Regions from separate parts of the Homo sapiens genome. Here all the other regions are linked to region 1. The links are contacts of gene promoters, found by promoter capture Hi-C in blood cells and fetal thymus (Javierre and others, 2016). All regions are on one chromosome and are shown on one strand. The core of a region is centred on a gene start or on the middle of the fragment in contact, and the rest is flanking DNA. Distances in the headings are between cores, read along the strand shown.

The links. Contacts are between HindIII fragments. The CHiCAGO score rates a contact against its expected background, and 5 or more counts as called.
Region 2: a contact is called between a fragment that was not itself captured here and the fragment with the promoter of MON2-AS1 in region 1, in 5 of 17 cell types (naive CD8 T cells, non-activated CD4 T cells, naive CD4 T cells and 2 more). The highest score is 6.6, in naive CD8 T cells.
Region 3: a fragment that was not itself captured here is called in contact with the fragment with the promoter of MON2-AS1 in region 1 in 1 of 17 cell types (naive B cells); the score reaches 6.3 in naive B cells.
Region 4: a contact is called between a fragment that was not itself captured here and the fragment with the promoter of MON2-AS1 in region 1, in 4 of 17 cell types (naive B cells, non-activated CD4 T cells, total CD8 T cells and 1 more). The highest score is 6.6, in naive B cells.
Region 5: a contact is called between a fragment that was not itself captured here and the fragment with the promoter of MON2-AS1 in region 1, in 1 of 17 cell types (non-activated CD4 T cells). The highest score is 5.0, in non-activated CD4 T cells.
Region 6: a fragment that was not itself captured here is called in contact with the fragment with the promoter of MON2-AS1 in region 1 in 7 of 17 cell types (naive B cells, total CD8 T cells, total B cells and 4 more); the score reaches 7.3 in naive B cells.
Region 7: a fragment that was not itself captured here is called in contact with the fragment with the promoter of MON2-AS1 in region 1 in 1 of 17 cell types (total B cells); the score reaches 5.6 in total B cells.

What each region holds. Positions count from the first base shown.
Region 1 is chr12:62,483,113-62,486,607 of GRCh38, reverse strand. It overlaps MON2-AS1 (MON2 antisense RNA 1), which reads left to right and starts at 1,666. Exons shown (of 2, transcript NR_186172.1): 1 at 1,666-1,839. MON2 (MON2 regulator of endosome-to-Golgi trafficking) reads right to left here. Exons shown (of 35, transcript NM_015026.3): 2 at 2,375-2,438. The HindIII fragment of the contact is 7,471 bases long and covers 1-2,158 here.
Region 2 is chr12:62,720,910-62,724,404 of GRCh38, reverse strand. All of the region lies in intron 5 of PPM1H (protein phosphatase, Mg2+/Mn2+ dependent 1H), which reads left to right. Among named protein-coding and RNA genes, the nearest start is that of MIRLET7I, 120 kb to the right of the region's middle. RefSeq lists an enhancer at 1-6. The HindIII fragment of the contact is 2,649 bases long and covers 179-2,827 here.
Region 3 is chr12:62,704,857-62,708,351 of GRCh38, reverse strand. The region is part of intron 6 of PPM1H (protein phosphatase, Mg2+/Mn2+ dependent 1H); the gene reads left to right. Among named protein-coding and RNA genes, the nearest start is that of MIRLET7I, 100 kb to the right of the region's middle. The HindIII fragment of the contact is 1,675 bases long and covers 691-2,365 here.
Region 4 is chr12:62,289,460-62,292,954 of GRCh38, reverse strand. All of the region lies in intron 1 of USP15 (ubiquitin specific peptidase 15), which reads right to left. Among named protein-coding and RNA genes, the nearest start is that of USP15, 31 kb to the right of the region's middle. The HindIII fragment of the contact is 480 bases long and covers 1,608-2,087 here.
Region 5 is chr12:62,671,148-62,674,642 of GRCh38, reverse strand. All of the region lies in intron 8 of PPM1H (protein phosphatase, Mg2+/Mn2+ dependent 1H), which reads left to right. Among named protein-coding and RNA genes, the nearest start is that of MIRLET7I, 69 kb to the right of the region's middle. The HindIII fragment of the contact is 1,376 bases long and covers 955-2,330 here.
Region 6 is chr12:62,306,508-62,310,002 of GRCh38, reverse strand. All of the region lies in intron 3 of USP15 (ubiquitin specific peptidase 15), which reads right to left. Among named protein-coding and RNA genes, the nearest start is that of USP15, 48 kb to the right of the region's middle. The HindIII fragment of the contact is 2,439 bases long and covers 561-2,999 here.
Region 7 is chr12:62,649,982-62,653,476 of GRCh38, reverse strand. The region is part of intron 9 of PPM1H (protein phosphatase, Mg2+/Mn2+ dependent 1H); the gene reads left to right. It overlaps LOC124903103 (small nucleolar RNA U13), which reads right to left and starts at 2,302; the gene lies at 2,199-2,302. RefSeq lists an enhancer at 1-108. The HindIII fragment of the contact is 599 bases long and covers 1,686-2,284 here.

The DNA.
Region 1 (3,495 bases), core at 417-2,916:
CAAGATGATAGTGGTCTATAAATCTACAACTTTTAGGTATAATTGCTTTAAATACTTCAGAAAAAATACTAGGATAAAGTTTAAGTGCAAATATACCTCCTCAAGTATATGGGCTCTGGATACTACGAAGATTAAAACATGACTATTAATTGTATTTGCACCAGATCTGTTCTAACTTGATTTGAATAATGCAAATTGAATTAAAATGAAATTAACAGCCTGCCTATATATTTAAATCATACCGACTAAGTCAAAATTTTTCTTACTCATCTTAAGAGTAATTTATTAGACATTTTACTTGGGATAGAATGCTGGAATAACAGTGATCCTCTGAGGAAATCAGTCTTTTTTTAAAAAAAGTCTTCCACAAACTATAAAACCAATAAAAATTTGTATTATTGGAGAATAATTAAGGACTTACCACGGTATCAACAATGATATTAGCAACAGTAAATATTTTAAATATTTACAGTGATATTCTAATACGATTGGCCTATGGTAAGTCTCCAACATAAAAATATCCAGGTCATCATTTTTCTTTAAACACCAATTTCCCCACAGTAGCTAATCTGCCTAATGTACATCTCCCATTAAAACCCACATGCTGGCCGGGCGCAGTGGCTCACGCCTGTAATCCCAACACTTGGAGAGGCCGAGGCGGGAGAACCCCGAGGTCAGGAGTTCGAGACCAGCCTAGCCAACATGATGAAACCCTGTCTCTACTAAAAATACAAAAATTAGCCAGATGTGGTGTTGGGCACCTGAAATCTCAGCTACTCGGGTGGCTGAGGCAGGAGAATCGCTTGAACCCAGGAGGCAGAGGTTGCAGTAAGCCGAGACCACACCATTGCACTCCAGCTGGGATAACAAGAGCAAAAGTCCATCTCAGGAAAAACAAACAGACAAACAAAAAAAACCCACTTGCCAGCCTTCCTAACCCTACCATGTGCACCTCTGCCTTTACCCACCACTTTCACTATACCACTTCTCAATATGCACACAGAGCATTATTTACTTCTGTGCATAATGTTATAAAACTATTGGGTGTTTTGATAAGACTGTTCAAAATCAGGGAAAAAGCTGTGGGAAACAGATGTAATTGAGGAGCGCTTATGCTAAGGGCAAATTTCCAGCAAAGCTGGATAGCCTAAGTGAAATCCACTCTTGCCCCCGATCCTTAATCTGACCCCAAAAATCTTAATTTCATTTCATAACACTCTGAAATCCCACCAGTTACAGATTTACTGGTATCCCTTTTAAAAAATGTAAAGTATATGAAAGTTAAAGAGATTATTTACTATTTGGACTCTGTAAATTAATTTAATAGGACTACTTTCCTCATAGATTAGCTGAGATCAACAGCACTACTGGAACTGGAAATGCAGATTAAAGGATCACTGAAGCAAGCACTGGTTACATATGTAATACTTGGGAGTAAGTGGCTAACGTGGAAACCTGGTGATACCATGGTAGCACACTGTAGCAGGAAGAACATGGGCTCCTGAACACTCCTGGATTTTAATCTGGTTCTATCACCTTTCCTGTGACCTTGGGCAAGTAACTTAACCTCTTCACATCTCAATTAGCTCTACTATCAAATAAGATAATATTTCCCCACAAGGTTGTTATGTAAGATAGAATGACACAAGTGCCTTGCATATAACAGATTCTTAAAAAAAAAAAAAAAAAAAAGCCAGTTTACCTCTTTTCCATGTTCATTATTGAGGCAAGAACAAAAGGCACCAAGGAAGAGAAAGGAGTGGACTGGGTAGAAAAGAAGGATGCCAAAGAGAAACTCCTGAAAATTCCTCCTTGAAAATCAGGTTCAATCAAGAGAAGGTAAGAAAACATTTTTGTTTTCTTTTCTCTACTTCACTCTCATTCTTTTTTCATGATCATACTGCCTTAATCCCAAGACTCAAAATTCATACGGTACAACTAAATACAGAAGACTATGTTATGAACTGTTCGTATTATATTAAAGAGAAAGTAGATCACAGAAGGTGGACTGAGAACAAATCTTTCATTCAATACAATGGAACAAATATTACTGAATGCTTTTTATGGTGTGTCTCAGGTGATTAGCAGGAAGTGGAGGAGAATGCGAAGATGAGTAAGAAAAAATTCCTTGCCTTTAAGGAGTCAGTAGTGTTAAGCTTTCTGATTTCAGAGAATTTTTGTAGCATTCGTCTCTGGGAAATACAGTCAGTTCATAAGTTATGGACTTTTGCCCATTCTGTTTCATTATGAATAGCATATGTTAGGGCATGAGGAAGAGATGTTACAGAAAACTGATGGCTTTTACAATAAAGATTCTACTTTTACTATTAGTCAAATTTTTGTTTATTATTAAATTTTTAATACAAAAAATTACCTGCCAAAATTTCAGTGTTTCGTGCAGCAATTGTTTTAACTTTTATTATTCCTGATTCAGCAGCCTGCAAGAATAAAAATAATTAGAACACAAAATTTACTGCCAAAATGAATTATCTATGGAAAATAAGTCATATGTGATAGACAAAATATCAAGCACAAAGTCAGTCACTACCCTACCACCTTTTTAATTTTCAAACCATCAGATACTAAGCCCAGTAGTGACATATACGTTAAATGTAATAAAACATGATTAATTTGATTATTCACATGCAAACTCTGAATGCACTACAACATGTTGCCTTCCTCTGCCTTAAGGCATTATCTGGAATACCTCAATCCCCTGCAAAGTTAAATTTTCCGAGAATAAAAATAACAAACAAAAACAAAATCTACTGAAAATAATTAGGCTCCTTTTCCCCATTTCAAGCCTCCTCTCTCTCCACCACACACAAAAAAATTATAGAACACTGCAAAATCAAGTAAAACTACTGTGTTGGATTTATTTATTTATTGTTGATGGAGTTTTTTGCTCTTGTTGCCCAGGCTGGAGTCCAATGGCACGATCTTGGCTCACTACAACCTCCGCCTCCCTGGTTCAAGCCATTCTCCTGCCTCAGCCTCCCAAGTAGCTGGGATTACAGGCACCCACCACCATGCCTGGCTAATTTTTGTATTTTTAGTAGAGTGTTTTATTTTTGTACTTTTTGTATTTTTAGTTGGCCAGGCTGGTCTTGAACTCCTGACCTCAAGTGATCCACCCATCTCAGCCTCCCAAAGTGCCAGGATTACAGGCATGGGCCACCGTGCCCAGACCTGTGTTGGATTTTAAAAGCTACTTTGTTTTCTTTTTTGAGAATGGATAACCAAACACTTCATTAACCGTAGTATGTTTAGCGGGCAGTACTGGCAAGTCACATAGTATTTTACAGAATGCCACAGAACTGCACTGTCCAATTTGGTAGCCATTTGGCTACATGTGGCTATTAAGCACTTGAAATGTGGCCAGTCTGAATTGAGCTATGCTCTAAGTGTAAAATATATACTAGGTTTTGAAGACTTAGTATTAAAAAAAAGAATATAACCTATCCCCTAAATATTTATACTGACTACATGTTGAAA
Region 2 (3,495 bases), core at 254-2,753, 240 kb before region 1:
CTGGTTTAAAGCACCATCAAAGGGCCCACTCATCCTCCTGTTAGGAGGCAAAGCGCCTGAAATCTCCACACTTACCCTTATGTGGGAGAAGAGATTTCTTACCCATTCATGGCTGATGCCCCTATAACAAAAGACAGATTAACAAGAGAAAAGCAAACAAATTGATTTAATATAAGCTTATGTCACATAGATGTCTTCAGAAAGCCCCAAGGAAACAGGGCAAACTGTATTTTTAGGGACAGTCATACAGAAGTTTGATCAAAGGACAAAAGATCTAATGGTAATAAACTCAGGGGTAGGGGTACTTAGCAAGGCCTGTTTGTTCAGCATCATCTTGGCATCCCTGTGTGATATTTCTTTCCTCTGGGTATGGTGCAGGGCCCCTCTGGAATCGGGTCTTAATGATCTATTTTCTGGGGAAGGTGAGCTAGGTCTCATGGCTTGCTTTAGAGGAGGAGTAAGGGGAATTCTTCCTAGTTTCTATGGGCTGCTTCTCCTGTTCCCTCAAATGCCCAGGTACTGTGATTGGAGGTAGTGTGTCCTGAACATGCATCACCTTCTTAGACATGGGGTTTGTTAAGAAATGTGCTCAGGAATGTCGTTTGGATTCTTACCTGTTTGTTAATAATATATATGCATGCCACGTATCTGTATTTACACACACACACAGCCTTAGTCTGTCTGGTGCTGCTATAACAATACTACAAACTGAGTAATTTATAAAGAACAAAATTTATCACAGTTCTGGGGTCTGGGAAGCCCCAAGATCAAGACACTAGCATCTGGTAAGGGCTTTCTTGCTCTGTTTTCACATGGCAGAAGGTGGAAGGGCAAGAGAGTGAACTCACTCTCACAAGCCCTTTTCTATAGCAGCATTAATTCACGAGGGCTCTACCTTCATGGCCTAAACACCTCCCAAAAAGTCTGCCTCCCAACATTGTTGCATTAGGGGTTAAATTGCCAACACATGAATTTTAGGAGACACATTCAGACCATAACATGTTCATTTGTAAACAGATGGTTCCCAACTTACTTTTTTTTTTTAATCAGGGCAGCCTTCATTTTACAAAGCAGAATGAAAGCACCGCTACTTTTTTTTTTTTAACTTTCTGATATTGTGAAAGCAATATGCATTTGGTAGAAATCATACTTCAAATTGATTTTGAATTTTGACCTTTTTCCAGGCTAGGGATATGTGGTATGATACTCTCTTGTGATGCTGGACGGTGGCAGTGAGCCAGCAGCTCCTAGTCAGCCACCCAATCATGAGGGTAAACAACCTACACTTTACAGTGGACTGTGTTGCCAGATGATTTTGCCCAACTGTAGGCTAATGTAAGTGTTCTGAGCACATTTAAGGTAGGCCAGGCTAAGCTCTGATCAGTAGGCTAGTTGTATGAGATGCATTTTGACTTACAATATTTTCAGGTTACAATGGGTTTACTGGGATGTAACCCCACTGTAAGCAGAGGAGCATCTGTGTACGTATGTATGTCTTCTATAAAGATCTGTGCATATATGACCCAGCACTCACAAGTTCATGCACACACACATATTGTTTGATGACCTGCTTTTTTACACTTAACGCAACTCTGTGTCATTGCATATTCTCTGTAGTGTCATTGTAAGTGACACCATAGAATTCTTTTGTTTGGGTTTATGCTAGTTTATTTAATGAGTTATTCATTCAATGATTTCTTCTAGTTATTTAATGTTATAAATAATGTCAGAGACATTTTTGTGCCCATACTGTGTGTGGCTCTGTGTGTGTGAGTTCTTTTAACAAGGTTTACTGATTCAGACTTTGCTTGGTCTAAGTGCAAAGGATCACAGGCCTCTTATGGCCCCTTTACTATCTTTTGTAAAAATGTGTGTGTAGGTTAAAGGCCCAAAATATGGTTAGGATGAGGGTTATAACCATGATATTAAGCTCAGGCTCAAGATCCACCCAGTCTTGGGCGAATGACCTCGGGCTAGGTCTTAACCTCTCCAGGATGTAGTGTTCTCATTTGTAAATCAAATCGACTCCTGCTTTGTAAAATTGTTGGGGAGTAAGATCAGGTGTATGAAGTACCTGGTATGGGGCTGGCACATGGTAACCCCTAAGCCCATGTTAGTCCAGCTTGGGTAGTGGATTGTATTCATGCTGATACAATCTGAAAGTTCTGAAAGATCATAAAGGGCTTATAACAGATGGTGCTGTCCGTTGACCACTTATGCCTTTGTTCCTTAGTTTTCATGGGCGGACTAAAATAAAAAGAATAAAATAGTATGTACCCAGTAGGCATGACGAGCTTCATGGGCCTGTGACTTGTGCGGTCGCGGAGGGTGCCGTGCTTAGTTTAGTGCTCTGCTTAGTTTAATGCTCTGCTGTCCCTGTCTTGAAATTCTTGATTTTGAACACAGGCTCCCTGTTTCTGTTTTTCACCGGGCCCCACAAATGATGTAGCCAGTGTTGTCCAGAAGATTGTTAAGAGGGTGAAATTAGAACTCTCAAAGCACTGAGTGTAGTACTCAGGATATAATAGGATTCAATAATCACTAGGTGACTATAATAATTTTTTGTAAGCAGAAACAACTAAGTATATTAATAGACATTACATTATGAAAACAGCAGTGTGGGATATATAATTAATCTCATTTACAGATAAACTGAGGCCCAAGAAATTAAATAACCTGCTAAAACCACATTGCTTATGAAAGCAGAGCTTGGATTCACACCCAAATTCTTCTCACCCAAAGCACCACTGTTGACCTGACCTATTAAGTGTTAGTTCCCTTCATTCCTTCCCAGGAGAACCTCTCTGTAAAACCTCGTATTTAAGCTTCCTTGATACCCATCAGCACCCCAAGCCTTACTCCCAGCAGAATTTTCAGAGCCCCTCAAAGTGATCCAGAATTCCCACCAGACCTAGAAACTGTTGAGGCTACAGCAAATGGGAAGCACAGTTCTCCTGCTCACCCTCAGTCACCCTGTCTCATCCCATCCTGTCCTGTCCCCAAGCCTGCCCAGAATTACTTGCTCAGAGTTCCATATCTGGGCAAATATGACCAGCCTGGTGACAACTTAGCTTCCTTCCTTTGGTTCCTGAAAAACTTAGCATTGGATGACTACCATCTAACTAATACCTCCAGACCTTCATGAGAATCAGTGAGAGATCCGCCGGCATTGGGTCCTAGCAAAGTAGCTGTAAGAGATGCCTATGACCCATACACTGAGGACCTGACCATCTGCCTGGTGGCAGAGATCCCTTGCTTTCCTACACTGCCAGGCTGTGATTTGCTCTGCCCACTCTTTTCCCTGCCAGAAAAGAAAGAAGATCCATTCCACCATGCTGCTCAGAAGCAGGTAGACAGCTTCATGTGGGGAAGTTCTAGTGCAGGCCTGCTTGCAGCATGTGGCCTCTGAGTAGAGAAGTTAGTACGTGAGCATTGCGTCTCTCGGATTGCTAGATTTGAATTTTGAATGTGACAATGAGACTGTTGTTTCAAAGC
Region 3 (3,495 bases), core at 279-2,778, 220 kb before region 1:
GGTTTCAAACTCCTTGCTTCTGGGCTTACCCTAGTAATCCACACACAAGAGCTGGAGAGCCACCACTCCAAACCCTGAAAAATCTCATCCTACCACCACCGTCCTCTTACCTTCAGACAAGTAAATCAAGGACTTATTAAGAGAGAGGCTAAAGTTTTGTGTCTGTTCCTTGCTGGAGAGCTGAAAGCAGATCTCTCTGTAAGAGCCAGGAAGGCTGATAACAAAGATGCCAGCGGTGTTTCAGAACTAGTGTGTTGTCAGTTGCCTCTCTCCTTTGTTGTAATCAGATCATAAGGAAAGCTTCAGAAGCCTCATGAGGGGATGGAACACATTCACTTTTTGTTCTTCACCTGGTTGCTCTGGCAAAAGCTGTAGTATTCTGCCATATTCCAGGTTCAGATTCTGCTGAGATGGGATCAGCCTTGTCAGTCTTCCAGGGTAGATCAGATGCTATGTATCACTCTCTGTACCTAAAGGACAAGGCACAGAGCTTCATCTCTGTGGGACAATCAGTTTCAACTACTATTCATTAAGTGAACCAGGTATTAGGTTGGGCATTGAAGATACAAAGCAGAAAAAAACAGTGCCAACCCTCATGGTGTTTACAGTCTAGTGTCAGGACAGGGCCATATATGGATGATTACAGTTTCATACAAAACTAATAGACAAAGGTTTACCTACATTGAAGCTTTGTCATCTGGGGCAATTACTGAAAACATTTCAGGGTCTATTTTATCTGCTGAATTAGAATCTCTATGGATTCTGCATTTTTTAATAAGCACCCCAGGCGATTGCTGTATATCCTTAAACATTGACTTTGGGCAGCCCTAGAGTTTGTTACAATGGATATGAATAACAGTTTGCAGAAGTGGTCGGTTAAAGAGCGCTGGGCAGCCTGGGCTGTCAAAGTATTGTGACTCCTGGGCTGCTGGTGGTCTTTGCCCCTGGTTATCCCCTTGCTATTGCTTGGGAATGTCTTTGTCCACCTGCAGTGAGCCAGTGACTGTTCATAAGGTGCCAGTAGACTGGACTGGCAGTGGCTGATAAGGGATGGTAAAGCCTTCAGGTGCAACGGTGGGTCAGGGTCAAATTAGGCCTCCTCTTTTTCCTTTTTGTGCCCATAACCTGGATAGTCCAGGCTTCACACATAGTATAAATACATGGGATAGGTCAGGAGACCATGCTGCCCAGGGCATTTAACTTAATGGTTTCTGATTCCTGCTCATCTTCAGTAAATGCTACACACCCCATCTCCAAGGCCTGATCCTCTGGGTCACATTGGATCACCCTATAGAAAACTGGGCACCTAGGTATGAAAATTTGGAGTCTGAGTTTATTGCACCTGAGCACTTTGAACGTCAAAGCTCAGGTTAAATCTAATTCTATAGTGATCTTGTACATCTGCAGTATTGTTAAGAGACAACCCTAGTTTTCAACCCTAGGAGTACTGGTATGTTTTAACTTCTATGCGACTGACCATTATAAAAACCTAGAATGTGAAGATGAGCTTAAATTTTTTTTTTACAATTTAATTTTAGGAAGAGAATTAATAATTAAACATTCTTTTGCATCTCATGCCATTTTGTGGCATTTATGCAGATTCCTAGCTCTTCACAGAGGCACAGAGAAGCGTGGTTAAGAGTGTAACTGTTGGGACAGACCTGAAGTGAGCTTGACCCCTATTTCCTCCCAGATATATGACCTCTCTTATGCCTCCATTTTCTTATTTGTGTAATGAGGATAATGTTTCTATCTAGCTTACAGTGTTACAGTGAGGATTATGTAAGTTTTTAAAAATATAAATCCTTAGTGCCTGGAACAAAAAGATTGCATAATAAACATTGGGGTATGTGAAAATCCGTTAACTGCTGGGCGTGAGGTGACAGCAGAAAATTTAACAATGGCTGCCTTTGCTCTCCATCCTCTGAAACAACAGGGCCACCTGGATGCAGGAGCTAAGAGTGTGGTATTCCTCCCTTTGGTAAATATCGACAGCTGTTACTCAGGCCTGCGCTTCTTGCCTTGGCGGCCTGAATAATATGGGGGTTAGTAGAAGATTTCAGAAGAGTATGGGAAGCTACAAGATAAGCCTCTATTTCACCTGAAAATTTTGGGAGTGAGGTAGAAGGACTTCATTTGTAGGCTTGTGCAAAACTCTCATGGTTTTTAAAGATAAAACAGAAGACTCAAAGCACTGATACTTGAGATCTGCACCGTGTAATGTTATCAGTTCAAAGGCACTTGGGTGGAAAGCCTTGAAATGATGTAGCATAGGTTAAAGTCCCTGCATGTGGCTTCTCCCAGGGGACACTGCAGGACTCTGCTCCATGATATGAATATCCATCTGAGCAGAGTGGGAGAAGCTTCGTGAGGGAAAGCCGCAAGGGCCGACACAGAGGAACTGCCTGTGCAGCAGAAACCCTCTTTGTAATTAATAATCTGTTTGCTATTTTCACCCCACCATTTGTAGCTATGGGGTCCATTTTGTTCATATCCTGATTTGTATATATTGACTTGATCTCATACAGTATAAAGGGAATGTCAATGAAATTCATGTTTATTTCAGAATAAATGGTCTCTGAGAAAGCTGAAATCACTTCACATTTGTGTGCTCATGAAGTAAGGGTCTCTGATTCATATCGGTGGAGAGAGCTAAATGTTATTGATTAGAATATGAAGCTGTTACGGCCAAGTGTGAATGCACACCAAGTGGATACTGAATCAGAAATAATTTCCAAATCTGGAATTTCCTTAAGAGTCATTCATAATGTTTTATCCTGAAATATTATTAGTTCTGTTTTATACATACACATGATTACTTTTTTTAAAAATACTGATTTTTTTCCAAGTGCATCCTTTTCTGCTGCTGAACTCAGCCTACGAATCAAAAGGTGACTTTCACTTTGTTTACTTTATTCTACTCCGTATACCCAGCACCTGTGCCAGTGCCCGGCACCTACTAGGTGCTCAGTAAATACTTGCAAATGAATCCAATAGAACCCATTGTTTTTATCTGGTCAAAGCCTGAGCTCCTAATTTGGAAGCTACTTAGAGCAGGTTCTGTTCTTCTACCAAACTTTGAGCTGTGGGTAGGGACCCATTCACAGGATTGTGAAATCAGTTTAGTATATGGAGAGCAGCATTTTAAACAAATTGAATAGCACAGGATAGAAAGAAAATATCGGTGTATATCACATAGTTAGGGTAAATATTGTTTTTTGCCGTGTGTTTGTGCATATGTTGGGTTAACAGGATTGATATATTTCTTACCACCGGTGAAACCTCTGCTGTAACCCAGTAGAGTCTCCCAAAGAACATTGACCAGCAAAATGAGAGCAATCTCTGTTGCCTCTTGCTATTTTCCATAGGCCTGGTGAGAAGAAGAATCTTTAGGCCAAAAGAGAGAAATGTTTACTACTCTCAGAACTCCAGGCAGGGTCTGGCTCAGGCGTGCTGATAGGGAGAAGTGGGGAGGTAGGCATTTTCCTAGGGACT
Region 4 (3,495 bases), core at 598-3,097, 190 kb after region 1:
CCCTTGTGCTTCCACATCCTGGGAGCTCTTGCTGACATTCCCCAGCACCCACTCAGCAGGCAGCAGTGGCACAGTGCTAGTTAGACCCGGGGTGCTGCAGGGTTCCCAATAATCTATCCCACAAGGAGTGCTACTTTTAAGAGAAGGAAAAGTGCAGTGCACCAAAAGGACAGCCTCTGGGACAAAGGAAACCAAAGCATGCATTTTCCAGCGCCCCCCAAGAGCTCTCTGCTTGGGGCTGCAAGTGAATGCCTGCTCCTGGCAGAGACACAGAGACACAAACTCTGCTCAGCACTGCAAGTGAGGAGTAAGGTCCTGTACCACTGGCCAAGTGGCCTCTGTGCTTGAGCCCAGACATAGAGAAGGGAACTTCTCCTCCCCCTCCACCCACTGCTGCAGACACAGTAATTGCTGCTCCCATGGGAAGCTGGCACAAGAAACCAGAGGGCAGGCTATCTGAAGCTGTGAGGGGCAACTGCAGTTCCACTGGCAGTGGCCTCTGGGCCCAGGTTCATGAGAAAGGTGGGTCCTGTCCCACTCTCTGCCTAGAGTTTCAGGGGTCCTGCCATGGGGAGGGAGCAGAGTCTGCATGGCACCCATTTCCAGATAGCACAGAAGTGTACTGTCAAGCCATGGGGCAAGCATCTCCTGTAGTTCTAGGCTACATTGCAGCTTGGAGATAAACAGCAGTGTCTAAGAGAACTGAACAACCTGAGCACCAGAATAGGAGTGTGAGAGGGAAACATCACATTCCTGCCTGCTGAGGCCAGGGTGCTAAGACAGCTCATCACCTGGCCCACACCCCCCCATCCCACCCCTCTCCACAAGAGACCTCAGTGCATTTTACCAGTGGCCCAATGACTCCCCTCTCCCCTGCCACCCTTGTCAGGGCTGGTGCCTCTGCCAGTCATCAGAATATCTGAGCTTTCCCTGGCAAACAAAGGTCAAGCGTAAACCCCACTGTTACCACTGAAGCTGACTCATACCTGCAAATGCTACTTATTGGCCTGGAGATGAACTGCACAACCCAATCTGGTAACATAAATGCACACAATTTGGGAACAAGATACACTTCTTGAGACCTCTGCTACCCTGACTTACAGGAGGCTGTGAGCCTGCTCACAAGCCAAGTATACCACTATCACACCTGATGTTTGAGAAAGCCACCAAAGGCTATCTAAAACCAGGAAATTCATATAGAGTCTTTGCCACTAAAAGCACCCAGAAGCAAAGCCAAATGACCATATTCAACATACATTACAGTCACATCCTCAAGGGAAAACAGTCTCGTTCAAACAAAAATTAATTCAAACTGAGAAATGTGTTTTTCCAGATGAGAAAGAACCAGTGTAATAATTCTGGAAGTTTGAAAAAACAGGGTGTTACGATACCCTCAAAGGATCACACTAACTCTCTAGCAATAAATCCTAACCAACATTACTGAAATGCTAAATAATTCACAATATTGATTTTTAAGGAAGCTCAATGAGATTCATGGAAAATGTGAAAAACCAACACAAAGAAACAGAATATCAATTAAGGATATAAATGAAATCTTTTGAAAATAAAAAATTCACTGAAGGATTTACAAAATACAGATGAAAGCTTCAACAATAAACTAGATCAAGGAGAATAAACAATCTCAGAACATAAAGACAGGTCTTTTGAAGAAAGAAAAAAGAATGTTAAAGATGAACAAAGCCTTTGAGAAGTAGGAGACTACAATAAAATGTCTGGATCTAGGAATTGTAGGTATTCTCGAGAAAGAAAAGAAAAGAAAGCAAAAAGTTTGGAAAACCAACTTCTCTTGTCCAGCAAGTGATCTAGACATCCAGAGTAAGAGGCTCAATGAAACCCAGAAAAATACATTGCAAGAAGGGCCTCACCATGACATAGAGTCATCAGACTGTGTGGTCTCAGCAAGAGAAAAGCATTTGGACACCTACAAAGGAAACTCCATCAGACTAACAGCAGACTTCCTGGCAGATGACTTACAAGTCAGAAGAGACTGGGATTCTATTTTCAAAATAGGCTTAAAGAAAAAAAAAACTGTCAACCTGAAAATTTGTATCCTGCTAGAAAAAGCTTCAGGAATAAAGGAGATATAAAGTCTTTCCTAGAAAAACAATCATTGAGGGAATCTGTCATCACTAGACTGGCTCTACAAAAATGATCAAGGGAAGTCTAAACATGGAAATGAAGGGTCAATACTTGCCATCATAAAAATGTAAGAAAGTAAAAAATCCACAGGTCTTGTAAAATAATTACACCAACGAAACTACAAAGCAATGTGATAACAATTAACATTACTACAGGAATAAAACCTCACATATCAATATTTACCTTAAACATAAATGAGTTAAATGCTCTACTTAAAAGATAAAGATTGGCAGGACGAATTTAGAAAACAAGATCCAACTATATGCTGCTTACAATAAACTCACCTTAGTGGTAAAGAAACTTACAGACTGAAGAAAGGGGTGCAAAAAGATACTCCATGCAAACGGAAACCAAAAACAAGTAGGAGTAGCTATACTTAGATCAGATAAAGCTGACTTTAAATCAAAAACAGTAAAAAAATACACAAAGTTATTATAAAGGGATCAATTCAATAGAAAGACATAACAATCCTAAATATATATGTACCCAACACCAGAAGACCCAAACCCAGATTCATAAAACTAATATTACTAGACCTAAGAAAAGATATAAACAGCAATACAATAATAGTGGGGGACTTCCATATTCCACTGACAGCACTAGACAGATCATCAGGACACAAAACCAACAAAGAAACACCAGAATTAAATTGGACTCTAAACTAAATGTATTTGGCAGACATTTGCAGAACATTCTAGCCCCAAATAGCAGAATATACATTCTTTTTCATCATGCATGAAACATTCTCCAAAATAGGCCATATGGTATGCCACAAAACAAGTCTTAAAGAATTTTTTTTTAAATTGAAATCATATCAAGTATCTTCTTAAACCACAGTGAAATAAAGCTAGAAATCAATCCCAAGGGGGAATTCTTGAAGCTATACAAATACATGGAAATTCAGCAACATGTTCCTGAACGATCTTTGGGTCAACAACAAAATTAAGATGAAAATTTTAAAAAATGTTTAAATGAATGAAAAAGGAGATACAACATACCAAACCTCTGGGATACAGCAAAAGCAGTGCTAAGAGGAAAGTTTATACTGCTGTCTAAACACACACACACACACACACACACACACACACACACACACAAATTAACAACCTAATGTCACACCCAATGAAACAGAAAAACAAGAACTAAATCCAAATTTGACAGAAGAAAAGACATAAAGATCAGAGGAAAAGTAAGTGACACTGAGACCAAAAACACAATACAAAAAGATCAATGAAATGAAAAGTTAGTTCTTTGAAAAGAGAAACAAAACGGACAGACTGCTAGCTAGACTAACCAAGAAGAGAGAAGATTCGAATAAACACAATCGGAAATAAA
Region 5 (3,495 bases), core at 393-2,892, 190 kb before region 1:
ATGCAGAGGTGGGTTTCAAACCCAAGTCTTCTGCCTCCAAATTCAGTGTTTGTTTCATGACATCAAGTAAAGTAGATAGACTACTACAGAGAATTTGGGTATAGTCTTGGTGGCCTGCTGGAATGCCAATCTTGAAATGATCTACTTGGTTTATAGGGCTGCAGGAAGTGTGTTGGTGTTTTATTTTCTTCTTGTCATAAGTGTCATATTCAAAGATCCATAGGTTGAGCTGTTGGGTTGGACACATGAAATAGAGGGGACAAGATTTCATCTCTTTATTTCCCACCAACTACTGGCAGCCTTTACCTTGGGAACCACCTTGGCTATTTCTGCCAGGAAACACTATTGAGAGCTCCAGTCACTGCTGTTTTAAATGAGACTTTGGGAATTGAATCCCAGTTTCCCTGAGCCCACTCTTAATCCTTTCCTTCTACCAACTAGACGATATTCAGATGTGGTTGCCCTGAGATCAGTGCCATAAAAGAATTAAAATTGGCAGTTCCCTTCCACATTATTTGATCTTAATTACAGCTTTGTGAGAGAAGTAGAGCAGTTGTTATATTTCCTTTTTCTTGTGTTTTTCAGTTTTTGAAAAATGATTTCAGAGATAGGAAAATTGAGCGCTAGGCCAGGTGCAGTGGTGTGTACGTGTAATTCCAGCACTTTGGACGGCCAAGGTGGGCAGATCTCTTGAGCTCAGGAGTTTGAGATCAGCCTGAGAAACATGATGAAACTCGTCTCTACAAAAAGTAAAAAAGTATAGGTGGTGTGCACCTGTAGTCCCAGCTACTTGAAAGGCTGAGATGGGAGGGTTGCTTGAGTGTGGCAGGTTGAGGCTGCAGTGAGCCAGAATTGTGCCACAGCACTCCAGCCTGCGCGACACAGCAAGACCCTGTCTCAAAAAAAAAAAAAAAAAAAAAAAAAAAAGAGTGGCTCTTCTCAAGTCACAAAGCTTGTTAGAAGCAGAGACCTGAAGCAAGGCTTCTGATAACAAGGGCAAGCCTCTTTCTCTTCCACAAAGCCAGTCCTGAGCTGCAGGAGCTCATTGTCCTACATTGAGTACTTAAAAGGGAAAAACCAGTTTGGAGAATCTGCTGAACTGATCAAGACACAAAAGCTGTGAGGGCATCCTAGAGAAGCGGCAGAGATTTGGCAAATGGAAGAATTGATGGATTCTTTTTAAAAGTAGCTTTAAGAAGCCAGAGTCAGCTTATAGGTGTATGAGCCCTCCTAACATGCCACCAAAATATCATCAGTAATAAGGCAAAGATGGGAGCAAGTATTACACAAACGCTGAAACAGCAGCCTGCAGCCGAGCACTAAGTGGAGGTGCTGTATTAAAGAGTTGCTTGTCACAGGCTCCTGTGTAAAATAAGTGCCCAATGTTGACATTAAGGACATCTCTAAGTGCTCTGAAGCTGAGGGCTCTGTGAGAGCAGTCAGCACTTGGCTCATTCAGAGCACATTAGTCAAGGTTCTTGTTTGCCCCCAGACTTATTCCTGCTCCCCCACACTGAATGTTTATTGGCAGCTCCACTGAAAACAAAGGAAGAAAAGGAAAGAGTTTGCCACTTCTGTTATATATCAGCACATTACATTTGTTTGACGATTTGGAAGTGTCTCAGTTAACAAACTAAATCTGTTGGATCACCGTGAAATGAGGGGGTCTTCTGAAAGTATCTTGTATGTTTAATTTGTTTCTTCCACTCTCCTTCCCCTGTTTATGCTTTGCCTCAGCAAGTATGTCCTGAAGACCTACTGTGGTTTACACTATAGAAGATGCTGCTAGACCCACAGAGGAAATACAAATTGGGATTTCTGGGCCTTCAGAAGTTGAATTTTGGTGGGACAATAAGATGACCAACCCCCTGGGTGTTCATTGTAAGCTGGACAGGGGTAAAATACCCAATAAGGAAATGCTTTCTTCGGTTGTGAATTGAGTGCTAGGCACAGTGCTCTGTTCTGGGTACAAAAACAGATAGGATAAGATGGACCTTATCCCTAAAGGAGTTGATCGTCTGTTACAGTTTTTCAAGGTGAGATTCCCCCCACCACTTGCATCAGAATTCCCTGGGGTCCTGTTGAAGTATGCAGCTCAGATCTGTACAATCAAGACTCTTACAGGTAGGATCTTTGAATCTTAACTTGGTTAAGGTAGCACTCCAAGTGATTCTAAACACATTTAGGTTTGAGAATATCTAGTCTTTTAGAAGAGACAGAAAAGTGGGCCCTGAAAGGCTGATAACAAAGATGCCAGCGGTGTTTCAGGGCCAGTGTGCTGTTTGTCAGTTGCCTGTCTCCTTTGTTGTGATCAGATCATAAGGAAAGCTTCAGAAGCCTCATGAGGGGATGGAACACATTCACTTTTTGTTCTTCACCTGGTTGCTCTCGCAAAAGCAATAGTATTCTGCCATATTCCAGGTTCAGATTCTGCTGAGACAGGATCAGCCTTGAGAGTCTTCCAGGGTAGATCAGATGCTGTGTATCACTCTCTGTACCTAAAGGACAAGGCACAAAGCTTCATCTCTGTGGAACAATCAGTTTCGACGATTATTCATTCAGTGAACCAGGTGTTAAGTTGGGCATTGAAGATACAAAGCAGAAAAAAACAATGCCAACCCTCATGGTGTTTACAGTCTAGTGTCAGGACAGGGCCATAAATCGATGATTACAGTTTCACACAAAACTGACAGACAAAGATTTACCCACAGTAAAGCATATAGGTAAATCTTATATTAGTGGGTGTGAAAGGATTGTGCCTGCAGAGGACCAGGGAAAAGAAAGATGGCTTCTCTTTGGTCCTCCTTAGGGTTGCTTTGGCAGGAGAGAGTGACACCCACCTTTCTCAGCCCTCCCTTCTTCACCACCAGTCTAACACTGAGTAACAGGAATCCAAAAGAAGGTTGGGGAGGTGCAAGAAGGGACCCATGGGAAATTGACTCGCTCAGATGGTACCTTCCCAGAGAGGTCCACCATGACCTCATCTTCTAAAATGACTCTATTGTTCTCCTTACCATGCTGGATTTTTCTTCAGAGCATCTTTCATCTTCTGACATTGTAATTTATTTGGGTGTCTATCTCATCTACTAGTTTAGAAGTTGTGAGAGGCTTTGTCAGTTTTAGTCACTGTGTCCCCAGTGCCTGGAAAACGAGTTGGCACACAGCAAGTATGCAATAAAAGCGTACTGAAGGCAGCAGAAAGGCAGGTCCACACAGGTCCCATTTTTTAGCTGCTCAGATTATATTGTTCTGAAAAACTGCAAGAATCTCAAGGATTCGTCTGGCTTTTTTCTCCCTTTCTTGGTGGATGGGAACCCGGGAAGGAGCCATTAGAAGGTCTGACCATGTCCCCCAGTCCCACTTCAAAGCCGTTTCTGTAGCACACCTGTCCCCTCCAGGGCTGCAAAGACTCTTCCAGATGTCTGAGTCCTGGGGAGCTTCAGAGCCCATTAGTTTGATGTGAGGCTTCCAGGAACATTAAGAAGCTATTTAAGG
Region 6 (3,495 bases), core at 531-3,030, 180 kb after region 1:
TTTACAAGATTCACTCTTTTAGTTCTTTTTACTATATTACCATACTGGCTAAGATTTCTAACACAGTTATTCTTGACTTGGGAAGAACTTTTAATATTTTACCAATAAGTACAATATTTACAGGCGATTTCTAGTCCTAGTTTTCTAGGAGTTTTTTTTTTTAAGATCATACATGGATGTTGAGCATCAAATGTTCTTTGTATCTCTATTGAGATTATTTTTCTCCTTTAGTCTGCTAAAATTATGAATGCTTTTCAAAGTTAAAATTGTATTCTTTGAAAAATATCCACCTTGGTCATTTTTGTCCTTTTTACATAATGCTGGATTTGTCTTGCTAACATTGTGTTTAGGACTTAAGCATCTATGTTCATGAGTGAGACCAGCCTGTAATTTTTCTTTCTTGTAATGTCCTTCAGGTTTTATGTCATGTTTATGCTAGCCTTATAAAATAAGTTGGGGAGTACTGCTTCTATTCTCAGAAAGAATCTGTGTGGTATTGGTTTATGGCTTCCCTAAATATTTGGTAGAATACACTGGTAAAGCTTTCTTGGCCTGAAGCTTTCTTTGTGGGAAGGTTTTCAATGACTCAATTTCTTTAATCACATAGGTGAATTCGAGTTTCCTATTTCTTACTGTATTGACATTTTAAAGTTCTGTTTGTCTAGAAATTATCCACTTCATCTAAATTTTCAAATTTACATAAAACTGTTCAAAACATAATCTTTTCAAAAAAGTCTTTAGACTCTGCTATGATGTTTCCTTTTTCATTCGCAATATAGGTTATTTGTGCCTACTCTCTTTTTATTCTTAAACAATCCTGCCAGGACTCATCTTTACTTTACTGGTCTAATTTCACTGCTCTCTACAATGACTGAATTTTGTTCATTTAATGTAGGTTTGTTTTCTATTTTGTTAATGTCTACATTATAATGTTTCTTCTTAAGTTCAATTTCCTTAACTTGTTGAGACAATAGATTTTCACTTTCTTTTCCAATATTTGCACTGAAGCTATAAAATTCCTTCTGAGAATTTCAGCCAATCTTTTAAGTTGTATTTTAATTATTATTCAGTTTAAAATATGTCTAATTTTCATTCTTCTCTTTGCCTCAAGGATTACTTAAAAGTATATTTTTCCATTTCTAGATAGTTGGGGGATAATCAGGTTATCTCTTTGTTACTGATTTTAGCTTAATCCCACTAATGACAGAAAATACAGTGAACAATTTCTATCATTTGAAGTTTACTGGAATTTTGATAACCCAGAATATGGTCAATTTTGCTTAAAAATTCCACTTAATAGAAATGTGTATTCTGCAATGACTAAGTACAATGTACATGTCAATTAGGTTATGGTGGTTAATCATGTTGTTCAAATCTTAATTACAAGCTCACTCATGTAGCTGTTGGCAGCCTCTGTTCCTCATTATGTGAGTCTCTCTATAGGGTAAGTTAAGGGCAAAGTTATGGCTTCGCCCAGAGTGAGTGATCCGAGGGGAGGGGATGAGGGAGGTATGTGCACTCCCAATAGAAGTACAGGCATCCATTAAGGACTAATCTCAGAAGTGACATACCACCACTTCTGCCACATGCTACTGACTGCATAGACCAACTGTCGTACAATGTGGGAAAGGATTACACCAGACTAAGGATTCTAAGAGGTCACAATCACTGGGGAGCATCTTTGAGGCTGGCTACCACAGTCTACCCCCTGGCCCCCAATGATTCACAGTTCCTTCCCCCAAAATACAAAATACACTCAGTTCTTCCAAAGGCCCCAACTAGTCTCAATTCATTTTAGCAACCTGGAGTTCAGAAATTTGTCATCTATAATTGACAAATTATAAATTTTCTATAAGCCTTTGAAGACATATATTCCGAGACCCCTAGTGGATGCCTGAAACTACAAATAGCACACTAATCCCTATATTCACTATGTTTTTTCCTTTACAAACATACATACCTATGACGAAGTTTAATTTATTAATTACGCACACTAAGAGATTAACAATAGCTAATAATAAAATAGAACAATTAGAACAATATACTATAATAAAGGTTATGTGTATGTGGTCTCTCAAGGTAGCTTATCATATTGTACTCACCCTTTTTCTTGTAATGATATGAGATGATTAAATGTCTACCTGATGAGAAGAGGTGAAGTGAATGATGTACATTGTAACGCTGCATTATGCTACTAATGCCCTTCAACAAAGCACTGTGACAGTAGATTGATAACCAAGATGGCTACTAAGTGACAAACGGGAAGGTAGTGTATAGTGTCCATGGGGAGGACATGGAGTGGGATGGCATCATGTTACTCAGAATGGTGCACAATTTAAAACTCACGAATTGTTTATTTCCAGAATTTCCCACTTAATATTTTTGGACCATGGTTGCTTGCAGGTAACTGAAATCGCGGAAAGCAAAACCATAGATAAGGGGGACTACTGTAGTGCCTCTTGATGTATAGGCCTGTGAACTAAGAGACAAGTTTTCTGCCCCCCATACACCCAAAATAAAACAATGAAGCACACAGAACATAGCCTTTTAAATATTCCTGTTTTGTAAGAGGGGAAATAGGACGTACAAAGGAATCAATGGTCCATAACGATTATGAAATCTACCTGGACAAATACTAGAAATTCCTTGACTGGAACTCAGTTCTACCCTTGCCTGAAAATTATTCTATCTAACATTTGGTTCTGTTCTCTGAGTCATCCTTTTTTCATGCATTAGCACATGCTTGAAGTTAAGTAAATTTTCAGCCTGATTCCTACTTATTGGAGTTTGGGAGGTCAAAGGCGTCTTTCATTTAATACTGCTTCTGCAGTCCAAAATGGCAGTGGTTCTGCGAGGTAATTCGAAAACAATGTAGGTCTCCACTGGATCTTACTGGAGTTCATTCCATTAGACAAAAGCCATATCCACAAATGTTCTGTAGGATAAGTCCTCTCTACTTTGGCTTTATGCTGAGAAAGCTAAGGGGTTGCCCGTAAGCTTCTTGAAGCCCTCCTGTTCTTAGAAGCCACATATTGAGAAGACACCCTTAATATTAATTAATATTACTACTGACAGGACAACCTCTAAGTTAACCCTTAAATACTTTATAGGGCCTTTTGTCTGAATAGTACTGTGAGGCATGACCTTTGATTTTTCTGAGGTAACTTACAGTCACACCCTTGGCTGCCAGATTAGATCACACTTTTTTTCTGAGAATACTCTGAGTTTTATCTTTGCTCAGAAACACTGCTTAGTATTAGCACCGTTTGCCATCTGGAGGGACTAGGAATCTTCAAAACTAGTAAATATTGGCTCTGTTTTATTGAACAATCCTTTCTTTAGTGTATTTCTCTTCTCTCACATCTGACTATAACCAACACAAAAAGAAACTAGGCAGTACTTTTAACACTTTGGCAGACCTATAATTTCATTAAATACTATCTTTAACCTTTCAGTTTACTGCAGGCAACATGTTGCTAAACTTACTCTACCACT
Region 7 (3,495 bases), core at 736-3,235, 170 kb before region 1:
CAAGAACCAAAGAGAAATTCACAACGGTGAAACACTGTCATTGAAACAAAGTAATTCACTAAATGGATAGTAAACTGCTAAAGGGAGTTAGTGAATTGAAAGATATCGCAGAGAAGTTGAAATCTGCAAGGTAAAATAAGATCTAATAAGAGTTTATGGAGAATATCTACAAAATAGAGGAGAGGCAATATCCAAAAAGTTGATGGCTGAGAATTTTTCAGAAGTTTTCAGTTTGAAAGAGTAAAACTAATTTCTTACCATGATAAGTAAAAAGCTCCTTTTTGTTATGTCTTAGTGGTACTTCATATCAGCAACAAAAACACAAAAACTTGAAAAGCTATCAATGACAAAAGCCATTTACCTATAAAGGAATGATAAAAGACAGACTTCTCAAAAAGAGTAGAAGTCAGAAGTAAGCAGAATAATGTCTTCAAACTGCTGAGGGAAAATAACAGACAATCTAGAATTGCATAACAATAAAGCTATCAGCCAAAATCAAAGGTAAAAATAAAGATTTTCTTAATCCAAAGACTAGGTGAGCTTACCACTCACAGACCATTGTTAAAAAAATTACTAAAAATGTAATTCAATGGAAGGAAATTAAATCCAGAAGCAAGGAGTAGTTTCATAAAAAGCAAAGAAGTTAGTATGTTGGTTTATTTATGTAAGTGTAGATTGTAAATGATAATGATTAAGGCAGGCTCAAAAAAAGGTGAATTAAAATAATAGGCAGTAACATGGAAAATGAAAGAAGGCATTCTAAGGTCCTTTTATTTTCAGGAGGACAGAAATACGATTAACTTATATACTAAAAATTTAACATAACTGATAATAGAAATAACACTTCCAATCCAGTTGGGGGAGGGGAATATTAAAGCTATCCACCTGACAGAAAACAAGAAAGAAGGAAAGAAGCACATAATAAATTAAAAACACAAAATAAGTTTTCATATGTGTGTGTATATATGACTGCAAAATATAGGTACAGGTCTACCAGTTTTTGCAATAAACAAAATTATCATCTTAGTGACTATATGGATTTTGTTTTAATTAGCCATGTGCTACTAATAAAATACACTTAAAATAATGCAAAGTTTATTAGCTGGGCATGGTGGAATATGCCTTAGTCCTAGCTACTTGGGAAGCTGAGGTGAGAGGATCACTTGACCCCAAGACTTCAAGGTTACAGTGAGCTATGATTATGCCACTGCACTCCAGCCTGGATGACAGAGCGAGGCCCTGTCTCTGAATAATAATAATGCAAAGTTTAGAAGTCCTACACTGCCCTGTGGATTTCATAATTGAACAATATCAGGGTGTGAAAGTGGCATTGAAAAACACTATGATTTCTTGCCTAAGAGACCAGGATACCATTAACTAAGGATGATAGCTGGGGATGTTCCACTTTGGAAGTAAAAAGAAATTAATGATCATTGAGTTCTTCCTAAGTCTTAGTTAGGGCCTACAAAGGAAATTAAGAAGGAGCATCAGAGAGAAGGACTTGTGCTGTGTGTCATGGAAGCCCAGTCACAGGAGAACTTGGAGTGGGTTATGGCATGGGAGCCCCAGAAAGAAAGGAGAATTCAAGAACAGAGATTTTTAAGGATAAAATAATCAGCAGTATTTGTGCTGAACACAAAGGGTTAAGCAGAATAAGTATTGAGAAGCCACCCTTGGATCAAGCTTTAAGAGGACAGATTAGTAGAGTATTGGGCCTACTGGTAAGAGACAAAGGAAGAAAATGGGAAGTAATAAATTGAGAAAGCAAGAGTGGATTTTCCCTCAGGAAGTTAAGCACCTAAGGGAAAACAGAGTGGATGGTGAAGAGAGAACCAATCTCAAAGGAAGTTATCTTGGAATAGGAAATAACCATATTGAAGAATGAAACCTTAATTACCTACAGCCCTCAGGGAAATGAGTTTCCTGGGTAGCCATCTTTTCTAGGTGACCTAATCCTTGCTTTTTAAAAATACCAAGCTAATTTTGACCATTTAAAAAATATGCAAAGTCACTAGTAATAGCAGCATCAGGGTGGTCTCTTGTTCATCTTTCATGACTCTAATAAAGCCAGTCATTTCTCCATGACTGCAGGACCTGTTGAGGCCTGTTTGGAGCTTAAAATAGCCATAAAGAGTTGTGTTTTGAGTTCCTGTATCTGTTTTTTGACATCTTTGAGTGTCTGTCTATCTCTTTTTCCATGTCTCATGGGTAATGTGCTGACGTAGTAACAAGGTTTAAGGGAGGCACATTTCACACGTAAGTGTGAAAACTCAAACATCAAGCTTATGAACTACAAAAGGATTGAGTATCTTTTATTGTCAGGCATATTTTCTCATAGCATACCATAATTTTCTATGTCTAGTCAGCTCATACCTGGGTTAAGGTGTGTTCAGGCCTGATAGGCAAATAAACTTAGCCAGGTTTCTGAACCTAAAAAGCTCAGGTGCAGACTGATCAATCACCAGGATAATAAACATCACTCTGGTGTGGCTGGTGGCCTTTCCCCATGTGTTTATGTCTCATATACAATTTAATATAAAACTAAGAGTAAGCTGGGGTGATATGGTTTGGCTCTGTGTCCCCACCCAAATCTTATGTCGAATTGTAATCCCTACATGTCAGGAGAGGGACCTGGTGGGAGGCAATTAGATCATGGGGACCGAGTTCCCCCATGCTGTTCTTACGATAGTGAGTGAGTGAGTTCTTACGAGATCTGATGGTTTAAAAGTGTGGCATTTCCCCCCTTCACTCACTGTCTCCCGCTGCCATGTAAGACATGCCTCGCTTCACCTTCACCATCCGGCATGATTTTAAGTTTCCTAAGACTTTCCCAGCCATACGGAACTGTGAGACAATTAAACCTCTTTTGCTTATAAATTACCCAGTCTCAGGTAGTTCTTCATAGCAGTGTGAGAATGAGGTGAGCAGCTGAGAGGCTTTTCTGACTATAGTGTATGAGCTGCAATATGTCGATTTTCAGATATTTACTTAGCTCTTCAGCCAAAGATCTCTTTGGAGGCCTTTATTTCCTGATCTCAAGAGGAGGAGAACCTCAGGACGAACTGTTTGCATCTTCCCTCAAGAATAACTTAAAGATTTCTGCCTCAAAGATGATAATTCTCTCAATACAGATAGAAAAAATTATTCACCTACTACCCCATCCTCTAGAAGGAAAGGTATTTATTTTGTATTGACTATAATATCCTTTCTGCTGTAGTGTATGTTACACTTCTGTCTGCTATCTGGGCTGTACAAATAGACTTGATCCTCAAAGACTGAACAACTTGGAATCTTCACAATCCTGGGATCATTTGTTAGAGGACTTGTTCTTAAATAATGTAACAATGATGCAGTTCTCAACATGAAAGTCTGTGAATTTTAGCAAAAGAAATGGAGAGGCTTCTGGGGTTCTGAATTCCATAACTCACAGCTCTGAAGGCGAGACTACTGAAACATTCCAAGTAGAGAAAGGTCACTAGCAATATCAGGGTGGTC